Regions from separate parts of the Homo sapiens genome. Here region 1 is linked to region 2. The links are contacts of gene promoters, found by promoter capture Hi-C in human tissues and cell types (Jung and others, 2019). All regions are on one chromosome and are shown on one strand. The core of a region is centred on a gene start or on the middle of the fragment in contact, and the rest is flanking DNA. Distances in the headings are between cores, read along the strand shown. Region 1 holds the start of RPS15 (ribosomal protein S15). Region 2 holds the start of BSG (basigin (Ok blood group)).

Evidence for each region. The method cuts DNA at HindIII sites, captures the fragments that hold promoters and counts their contacts. A contact is called where the count stands out against the background at its distance.
Region 1: the fragment with the promoter of RPS15 here is called in contact with the fragment with the promoter of BSG in region 2 in 2 of the 25 tissues and cell types used here (dorsolateral prefrontal cortex and lymphoblastoid cells).

Annotation. Positions count from the first base shown.
Region 1 is chr19:1,434,886-1,439,645 of GRCh38, forward strand. RPS15 (ribosomal protein S15) reads left to right here and starts at 3,511. Exons shown (of 4, transcript NM_001018.5): 1 at 3,511-3,543; 2 at 3,922-4,007. The coding sequence starts at 3,541. DAZAP1 (DAZ associated protein 1) reads left to right here. Exons shown (of 12, transcript NM_018959.4): 12 at 1-799. The coding sequence ends at 27. RefSeq lists enhancers at 3,256-4,126, 3,535-3,754. The HindIII fragment of the contact is 20,902 bases long and covers 1-4,760 here.
Region 2 is chr19:568,953-574,013 of GRCh38, forward strand. It overlaps BSG (basigin (Ok blood group)), which reads left to right and starts at 3,644. Exons shown (of 9, transcript NM_001728.4): 1 at 3,644-3,749. The coding sequence starts at 3,683. It overlaps BSG-AS1 (BSG antisense RNA 1), which reads right to left and starts at 3,296. Exons shown (of 3, transcript NR_184018.1): 1 at 3,157-3,296; 2 at 2,488-2,644. RefSeq lists enhancers at 1,892-2,464, 2,545-2,594 and silencers at 3,415-3,634, 3,805-3,984. The HindIII fragment of the contact is 13,063 bases long and covers 1-5,061 here.

The DNA of each region.
Region 1 (4,760 bases), core at 2,261-4,760, 870 kb after region 2:
CAAGGGTTCCACCCCTACCGACGCTAGCCCGCGGCGCCGCGACGTCTGCACGGCCCAGACCCAGGATTCCAAACTTGTGAACTCGTGACAATCACAAACTTGGCGGCAAAGTGGCGACTCAACCTTGGGGGGGGGGGCGGGGGGAGGGCGCGAGGCTTTTGGAGCGGCTGTGGGTGTCGTCTGGACTGAGGTTTTTAAATATTTCTTTCTCTAACCCATCAGCACAATAAAAAAAAGTCACTGGTTCAACAACAGGGTTTAAAAAAAATGTCTTCAGCTTTAATTCAAAACTTCAGGTTTCTTTTTCTTCCTTTTTTTTGGAAATTATTTTCCTGAGCCTTTTGTTTTACGGTATATTGTAAACTTTTATGTTAAAGAAAAAATATACATTTACAAATTGTGAGATTTTTAAGAGAAATTTTCTACGATGTATACTGGCTTATTTTTTAATTTAAAACGGGGTTTCCGTCGGCACTGGTGGAGGGGGTGCGCTGTTAGTCCCCTCGCTCCTGGCTTTGGGGGTTGGGACTTGGTGGTCCAGAAACTCTGGGAGCTTCTAGAAGAAATCTACTGAGTGTATTTCTGTTTTTTGTTTAATTCCTTGCTTTTGTCGACTGACCTGCTTGGTAGTGTCTGAGGTGAACTGTGGGGGTTGCGCACAGCCAGCCGCGTGGATCCCACGCAGCGCTGAACCGAACCGAGTAGGAAGCCTTTCTCCCCAGGCACGTGGCTTCAGGGCGTTTCCCATTGACCAGTTTGACCCTGGTTTGAATAAAGAGAAGTGCGTTTGGATTAGAAACCACTTTGTGTCCGTTTTTTCCCTCCTTGGTCTTGGCCTGTGCCTACCCTTCCAGTGCCTAGGAAAGGTCTGAAACGCGACGGAGGCGCCCTCGCCCTCCCCTTGGCTCTTGGTGGTCTCAGCAACCCCGAGGGCTTCAGGGCAGAGGCTGAGTGGCGAGCTGGGCCCATCCCTCAGTGGGTCTTGGGATGCTGTGACTTTGAGGATGTGGCCACCACCAGTTTTCTCGGGGAATGTGGGCTCCAGGCTTTTCCCATCTCAAGACCTTTAATCATATCTTTTGCCATGGAAGGTGACATATCCCCAGGTTCTGGGGATTAGGACAGGGGCATCTTTGGAAAGGGATACTCTGTCACTGTGGCAGGGAAGGCGAGACTTAAAAAGGGCCGGGCGCGGTGGCTCACGACTGTAATCCCAGCACTTTGGGAGGCCGAGGCGGGCGGATCACCTGAGGTCGGGAGTTCGAGACCAGCCTGACCAACATGGAGAAACCCCGTCTCTACTAAAAATACAAAAATTAACCGGGTGTGGTGGTGCATGCCTGTAATCCCAGCTACTTGGGAGGCTGAGGCAGAAGAATCGCTTGAACCTGGGAGGCGGAGCTTGCAGTGAGCCGAGATTGCGCCATTGCACTCCAGCCTGGGCAACAAGAGCGAAACTCCGTCTCAAAAAACAAAACAAGAAAAAAAAAGGACCATGAAGTCCCAAACTGGAAGCCTACAGCGTGCCAGGCGTGAGACTGTTCAGGCGACAGCCAGAACCACCCCCCCCCGCCCCAGTTCATATTTTGGGGACAGGGAAGGTTTGACTTAGTTTGGAGAGAACCAAGAGAAGGGGTACCCCCAACATCCCTGTGCAGTGCAGTTTCCTCACTGAGACAGTACCCCTCAACGCCTCAGCCCAGGAAGCCAGCTCCATTCCCTGCCGTCAGAGCCTTCTCCCATGTCCTCAGGAGCTGCTGCCCCAGCTCCCAGGAGGGCCAGGCGGGGGCGGCTGTCTATCCACACCACAGGTCATCATGGTGTTGAGTGTCAGCCCCTCCCGTTACATTAGCTCCCCCAGCCAAAGAGCAGCACTCACAAAATCAGCTTTCCAGCCAGGACACTCTGCTGCAGGAAAATGGGTAACATGGACGGGCCCGACACATAGGTCCTGTGCTCCTCGGGACGGAGACTCAGCCCTCCCTGAGTACAGTGTAATTGGCTTCCCTTGGGACTGTGGGGACGGCTGGGGAGAGCTCAGCTCCCTGGACAGTGCCACAGCTAAGCTCGGGTTCCCAGAGGTTTTGTGCTTTTTTTTTTTCTTTTTCTTTTTTTTTTTTTTTTTTTTTTTTGAGAAGGAGTCTCTGTCGCCCAGGCTGGAGTGCAGTGGTGCGATCTCAGCTCACTGCAACCTCCGCCTCCCGGGTTCAAGCGGTTCTCCTGCCTCAGCCTCCCAAGGAGCTGGGATTACAGGCACCCACCACCACGCCTGGCTAATTTTTTGTATTTTTAGTAGAGTTAGGGTTGGTCAGCTTGGTCTTGAACTCTTGACCTCAGGTGATCCGCCCGCCTCGGCCTCCCAAAGTGCTGGAATTACAAGCATAAGCCACCACGCCCAGCCAGGTGCCACATCCATAGTTAATAGTCACCTTCAACTTTATACTTAATTCCAGTAAGATACAGAAACATCACTCCTAGGCCAGGCGCGGTGGCTCACGCCTGTAATCCCAGCACTTTGGGAGGCCAAAGCGGGTGGATCACCTGAGGTCAGGAGTTCGAGACCAACATGGCCTGGCCAACATGGAGAAACCGTGTCTTTACTAAAAATACAAAATTAGCCGGGCACGGTAACAGGTGCCTGTAATCCCAGCTACTTGGGAGGCTGAGGCAGGAGAATCGCTTGAACCCAGGAGGCAGAGGTTGCAGTGAGCCGAGATCACACCACTGCACTCCAGCCAGGGCAACAAGAGTGAAACTCTGTCTCAAAAAAAAAAAAAAGTCACTCCTACATAGTTCTAGTTACTCCTTCTCTTTGAGCTATCATTATTCACATTACATTTACATATCTTAACAAACCCAGTGATATTCCTAACTTTATTTTTGAGGCAGGGTCTTGCTCTGTCGCCCAGGCTGGAGTGCCGTTGGCGCGATCACGGCTCACTGCAGCCTTGACCTCCTGGGCTGAAGGCTCAGCCTCCCGAGTAGCTGGGAATTTTTTGTACTTTTTATTCTTTTATGTCCGTGTGTACACAAATTTTTGTATTTTTTTGTAGAGAGGCAGTCTCACTGTGTTGTCCTTACTAACTTTATATACAAAATTTTATCTGTTAAAGCCGGAATGGTTCTTTTCAGCGAGGCCCTGTCCCTGCTCCAGTATCTGTAATGAATTCTCGTGTTCCTCCCACAGTGGGACCTGAACCGCCAAACCGCACCTACGAGCAAACGGTAGGCGCTCCATAAATACTTGTTGATGTGGGTGCCATCGTGTAGATGACGGAGCACGAACCCGAGGCTCAGACAGGGGCGGCGACTTGTCCAAAGTCCCACTCCGTGGAGGAAGCGGCTCTGCAGACCTCAGGCGGCGGCTGCTCTAATCCCTGCAGCCTGTGTTTTGCCCTCCAGACGGCAGAGGGCGCGTGTTCGCCGCCGGGAAAGCGGAAGCGCGTGTGCGCGCACGGCCGAGGGGGCGGGACATGCCGGCAGTCTCGCGATAACTGCGCAGGCGCGGACCAAAGCGATCTCTTCTGAGGATCCGGCAAGATGGTGAGTGTTGCGATTTGGCGCGTCTCTGCCGGGCCTATCCGGCTCCATCCAACCTCTGACCGTCTCGCGGGGGCCGCAGTTCGTCCCCGCGGCTACGGCGGCTTGCTCCCGACCCTGCAGGCGGCTGGATGTTGGGGCGAGGGGCGGACTTGGTGGGTGTCGGGACGACGCGGGGCTGGGAAGGCCTGTCCGGGCCTTCATGTCCGGGTCCTCGTAACCCGGAGCCGCGAGTGATCCCCGGGGACGGGTCGAAGCGGTGTGTCCCTGTCGGGCTTCTGTCCCCGGCGGCGCCGCGCGTCTTCCGCGGTGTCCTCGGGCCCGGTGGCCCCGGGAGATGGGTGTCGGGATCCCGCTGACGCCCGATCCGCGCCCGCACAGGCAGAAGTAGAGCAGAAGAAGAAGCGGACCTTCCGCAAGTTCACCTACCGCGGCGTGGACCTCGACCAGCTGCTGGACATGTCCTAGTAAGGGCGGCCGCGGGGGTCGCGGGCAGGGGCTGGGCCAGCGGTGGGGCTTGTCCGGGTGAGGGCGGCGGGGCGGGGGTCCAAGCGCCTCTGCGGCGGTGGGCGGGCACGGTCTCCGCGCGGGTTTGGAACTGAGTGTGGTCTTGCGCCCAGAAAACTGTCCAGAGACGTTGAGGTTTTTGCTTATTTGCAACCTGCCCCCCGTTGTTCACTTTTCCGCGGCTTAGTTGGAAGGTGTAGCCCCTGTCTGTAGCCCACGTGACTTAGAATAAGGGGCTGCGTTAGACTCCTTAGATTTTAAGGGCGGTGGAGGTCGCTGGGTCCTTTCCAGGCAGGGTGGTGGTGGGCATCTGGCTTGCGCTTTTATTTTTTAATTTTTGATTATTTTGAGGCGGAGTCTCATCCTGTCGCCCAGGCTGGAGTGCAATGGCTCCGTCCCAGCTCACTGCAGCCTCCCACTCCCGGGTTCAAGCGATTCTCTTGCCTCAGCCTCTCGAGTAGCTGGGATTAGAGGGCCCCCCCACCACGTCCGGCTAATTTTTGTATTTTTAGTAGAGACGAGTTTCAGTGTTGCCCAGGCTGGTCTCAAACTCCTGACCTCAGGTGATCCACCTGCCTCGGCCTCCCAAAGTGCTGGGATTACAGGCGTGAACACCGCGCCCGACCTTGATTTTTGATTATTTGTGGAAACAGCGTTTCTCTGTGTCGTCCAGGTTGGTCTTGAACTCCTGGGCTCAAGCGACCCTCCCGCCT
Region 2 (5,061 bases), core at 2,394-4,893:
AAAAGAAAAAAAAAGTTCCTCTATGGGATGGTCTTTCCAATTTTCTTTTTTCTTTCTTTCTTTTTTTTTTGAGACGGAGTCTCGCTCTGTCGCCCAGGCTGGAGCGCAGTGGTGCGATCTCGGCTCACTGCAAGCTCCGCCTCCTGGGTTGAGGCCATTCTCCTGCCTCAGGCTCCCGAGTAGCTGGGACTACAGGCGCCCCCACCACGCCCGGCTAATTTTTTTGTATTTTAGTAGAGATGGGGTTTCACCGTGTTAGCCAGGATGGTCTGGATCTCCTGACCTCATGATCCGCCCACCTCAGCCTCCCAAAGTGCTGGGATTACAGGCGTGAGCCGGCAGCTGCATATTTTCTTATCTGTTTATTAAGTCTGTTTAAGAATTCCACGGGCCTGGCCAGGCGCGGTGGCTCACGCCTGTAATCCCAGCACTTTGGGAGGCCGACGTGGGCAGATCACAAGGTCAGGAGATCGAGACCATCTTGGCCAACATGGTGAAACCCTGTCTCCACTAAAATACAAAAAATTAGCCAGGCGTGGTGGCGGGCGCCTGTAATCCCAGCTACTTGGGAGGCTGAGGCAGGAGAATCGCTTGAACCCGGGAGGCGGAGGTTGGAGTGAGCTGAGATCGCGCCACTGAACTCCAGCCTGGGCGACAGAGCGAGACTCTGTCTCCAAAAAAAACCCCATGGGCCCTTCATGTTTCCTCTGTTGTACGTTAAATGCTCGGGAAGTATTTTGGGTTTGCAGATCTGATTCCCGAATCCTTGTAATTATCCCATCTCCGAGATCGCTCATGTTTTTTAGGTCACATTGTCATCCCACCCAGGATCTTGGGCCAGGAATTTACGCTCCGCTGAAAGGACGTTCTGACCGGGGGGTGTTCACGCTCCCAGACTAACACAGCGGCCTGTGAATCATGGTTCTCTCTCTCCTGAGACGAGAGTACTGAGGGTAGACATTAATTCAGCCCAAGCGTACAGCTGTGGCCCCAGAAATTGGTCAATTTGATCCGCGAATCCAAAAGGGTCATCTAACAGTGGTTTGAGTTCTTTTAGATTTCTAACCTCTGAACTGGTTAAAGGGGGCATTTACGAAGTCAATATCCCTTCCTCCCGGTGGTCCTTCCCTAAAGGGGAAAAGGGCTGAGGCAGGTCTTTTTGAGCAGGAGGCAAAAGGAAAGTTCTGTGGGTTTTTGTTTGTTTGTTTGTTTTTTGAGACGGAGTCTCGCTCTTGTTGCCGAGGCTGGAGTGCGGTGGCGCGATCTCGGCTCACTGCAAGCTCCACCTCCCGGGTTCAAGACATTCCCTGCCTCAGCCTCCCGAGTAGCTGAGTAGCTGGAATTACAGGCGCCCGCCACCACGTCCGGCTAATTTTCGTATTTTTAGTAGAGGCGAGGTTTCATCATCGTGGCCAGGCTGCCAGTCCTGAACTCCTGGCCTCGTGATCCACCCGCCTCTGCCTCCCAAAGTGCTGGAATTACAGGCGTGAGCCACCGCGCCCGGCCGAAAGTTTCGAATATCCCTTTGGCATTGTTCTGTTTCCCGTTGGAGCTTTCCTGAGGAAGGGGCATGTTCTAGTGGCTGTCCAGCGGGGATGTGGGTGGCAAGGTCCAGGTGGTTCTATAGGGGAGGGATGGAGGGGCGGAGGAGCGGGTGGGGGAGGGGCGGAGGGGCGAGGGGTGGGTGGGAGGGGCGGAGGGGCGGGTTGGGGAGGGGCGGAGGGGTGGGGTGGGTGGGTGGGGGGGGCGGAGGGGTGGGTTGGGAGGGGCGGAGGGGGTGGGTTGGGAGGGGCGGAGGGGGTGGGTTGGGAGGGGCGGAGGGGGTGGGTTGGGAGGGGCGGAGGGGGTGGGTTGGGAGGGGCGGAGGGGTGAGTGGGGGAAGGTGGTCTAGAGGATCCCACCCTTCTTTAGATATGGGGCGTCTCTGCTAAAAATACAAAAATTAGCCGGGCGTGGTGGTGCGCGCCTGTAATCCCAGCTACTCAGGAGGCTGAGGCAGGAGAATCGCTTGAACCCGGGAGGCGGAGGTTGCAGAGAGTCGAGATCGCGCCGCTGCACTCCAGCCTGGGTGACACAGCGAGACTCCAACACACACACACACAAAAGATATGGCGCGTCTCATTCATTCACAAGTTCCTCTTCAAAGGTTTGGCTCGTTCAGCGCCCTCGTTCTTCGTTTCCTACTTCCAAGGCCAACCTGACTTCCTCACCCTCTGGGCCTCCCCGTCTGAGTCTCAGTAAACAAGTTTCCCGCCGGTCCTGATCTGCAGAGATGGCACCTGCCACCCACTCTGCACATCCCCCTCCCGTCGCCACGGGCTCTTCCCGCCAGTGTAGCCACATTCCTGCCCCTTTCCAGTTAGCCCTTCGCGTTCGGCTTAGTCTGCGGTCCTCTTGCATTGCGACTCCGAGTTTAACTTCCAACACACACTTTCAACCTCCAAGAGACGCCCCCACCTGTGTCGCCCCAATAGCGACTTTTCTCACCGTGGTCGCCGCGGAACTTCAAGGGTCCTTCCTACCCGCGTTGCTGAGAGTCTGGGTTTACGCGTCACCTCGGGCGGGACCCGATCCTCCGCTCCTGAGGCCCCCACAATGAAGCAGTCGGACGCGTCTCCCCAAGAAAGGTAACCGCCAGCCTCTCCTGAAACAGAATGGGATCCAAATGGGATATTTGGGGGCGGCGAGTCGGTCCCGCAAAGAGAAACCAGCACTTAGAAAATTTCTCAGCGAGACCACTTTACTTGTACGGAAGGGGGCTGCCTGCGTGGGATGCAATCTCCAGAGCACACGGGACAAAGGAAGGGAGCTTCTGTTCCTCTGTCCTTTCCCTGTTGGCTGGGGTTGGACGCCCACAATCTAAGCTGATCCCGGTTGGCTAAAACTTAAAACTTTTTTAAAATAGGGTAAACGCGCCACCTGCGAGGAAAGAAGAAGGGGGTAAGGTTGATTGACAACTTTAGACCTGGAAGTTGAGTTTCTGAAGAGGAACTTACTTGTCCCAACCAAATGGTGCACAGGACGTTTATACTAAGAAATTATTCATTTTCTGAGATCCAGATTCAAGTGCCCTTTAAGTATTTTTATTTGGGCGGAGGAGGTCACTTCCTCCCACCTAATTTATTAATACGTTCATATATATATATATATATGTACATTTTTAAAGGCAGAGATGTGCGTCTCGCCATGTTGCCGCGTCTGGTCTCGAGCTCCCGGGCTCAAGCGATCTTCCCGCCTCGACCTCCCAAGGCTCTGGGAGTACAGACGTGAGCCACAGCGGCCGGCCCGTGTTTAACTCAGATAAAATCTGGGTAACACACTTTCAACGCTTCAACCCCCTCGGGCGCACCGCTCTGCGCTCATTGCAACTTTGAAAGCAGGAAGGAAGAAATGCGCAGGCTCCAGCCGCGTCCCCGCAGGCCCCACTCCCGTTTCCTAGCAACGCCGGGTCACGTGCGCCGCCGCCCGGATTCCGTAGCGTGAGCCTGCCGGAGCCGGCGCGTACATGCGAGCGTGTGCGCGCGTGCGCAGGCGGGGCGACCGGCGTCCCCGGCGCTCGCCCCGCCCCCGAGATGACGCCGTGCGTGCGCGCGCCCGGTCCGCGCCTCCGCCGCTTTTTATAGCGGCCGCGGGCGGCGGCGGCAGCGGTTGGAGGTTGTAGGACCGGCGAGGAATAGGAATCATGGCGGCTGCGCTGTTCGTGCTGCTGGGATTCGCGCTGCTGGGCACCCACGGAGCCTCCGGGGCTGGTGAGGAGCGGGTAGGGGGCGGGGGTGCGGTCCTGCAGGGGCCGGGAATGGAGGCCGCGGTGCCGACCCGAAGCCGACGGGAGCCTGGGGCCTCGGCGCGGGGCGGCCTGGGGTGCGAAAGGCCGGCCCCGGGGGCTTCCCGCGCCAGCATGGAGCTTGGGGGTGAAGTCCCAGGGTTTGAGGGGGGACTAGAGGTTCCTCCCGGCGCGGCCTGCCGGGCTCCCCCGGGCGCTCCGGCCTCGAGCCCGGCCTCTGTGTGTGGGCGTGAAGCTCCCTGCTTGGAGGCGGGAGCCAGGGGGTCCTGGCCAGGCCGGTCTTGGTCAGGGGAGGTGGGCGTCTTGCTTTTCGGTCACCTGGGGTTGGGGGTGACCTGCTTCCTGGGTGAGGGCGTCTGCGAAGGCGGTTGGAGGTGGCCCGCCCGCCGGTCCCATCGGCCAGGAGAAGGGAGACCCAAAGCCTGGGTGAGCGTCCCCTTTGGCCTGGAGCCAGGGGTCAGGGGCTGGTTGGTGCCTGCCCAACCCGTCCTGCTGGGGCTGGACTCCGCAGGACCTGGGGAAAGCGGCCTGGGCGTGGAATCTGGAGACGGGTCCACCCTGCCTGCGAGTGTTAGGGTCAGAGACCCTCCCCTGAGACTCTCTGGGGCCCCCGCAAGGGCCCGTGCGGCCTGGAGCGATCATCTTGGCGCTCCCTTCTGGAAAAGGGGCTTTTGTCCTCCAAGAGCACATGGAGGCTCTGAGTGGGTCAGCCCTCCGGATCGGGAAGGGATTACCGTTCTTCACGGGATTTAGCCCTGGCGTCTTGCCTAGGGCGTGCACCTGCCCCCGGGTGTTCTCCCAGACTCTTAAGACCTCGCAGGCTCCCTCGAGGGGCCCTGCGTGGAAGGGAAGGCGGAATCTCCCTCTGATTCTGCCTGGATTCAGCACCCAGAATGAGGTGGTCTCTGAACGCCCCTCCTCCTTTACAGGCGAGGAAACAGCCCTGTGGGAAGTCGAGGTTCCAAGGTCACAGTGAGGGGGCCCTGGCCACCCGATTCAGCGCAGGAAATAGTGAGAAAGTCGTTTTTAGCCGACTCTGACCCGCATTCGGTTTCCAGTGCTGTCTTAGGAGGGCCGTGTGTTGAGGGTGGGCAAACGTGGTTTGGAGAGCGCATTTGGGAAATGGATTGAGGTGTGTTTTTCCGGGAGAAAAGCATGACATCCTTTCTTGCTTCATAGAAAATTTCTTCCTTTGTTGAGACCCCCATTTGGTTCTGGGTTAAAGATTTATAGTGAGGCCGGGCGTGGTGGCTCACACCTGTAATCCCAGCACTTTG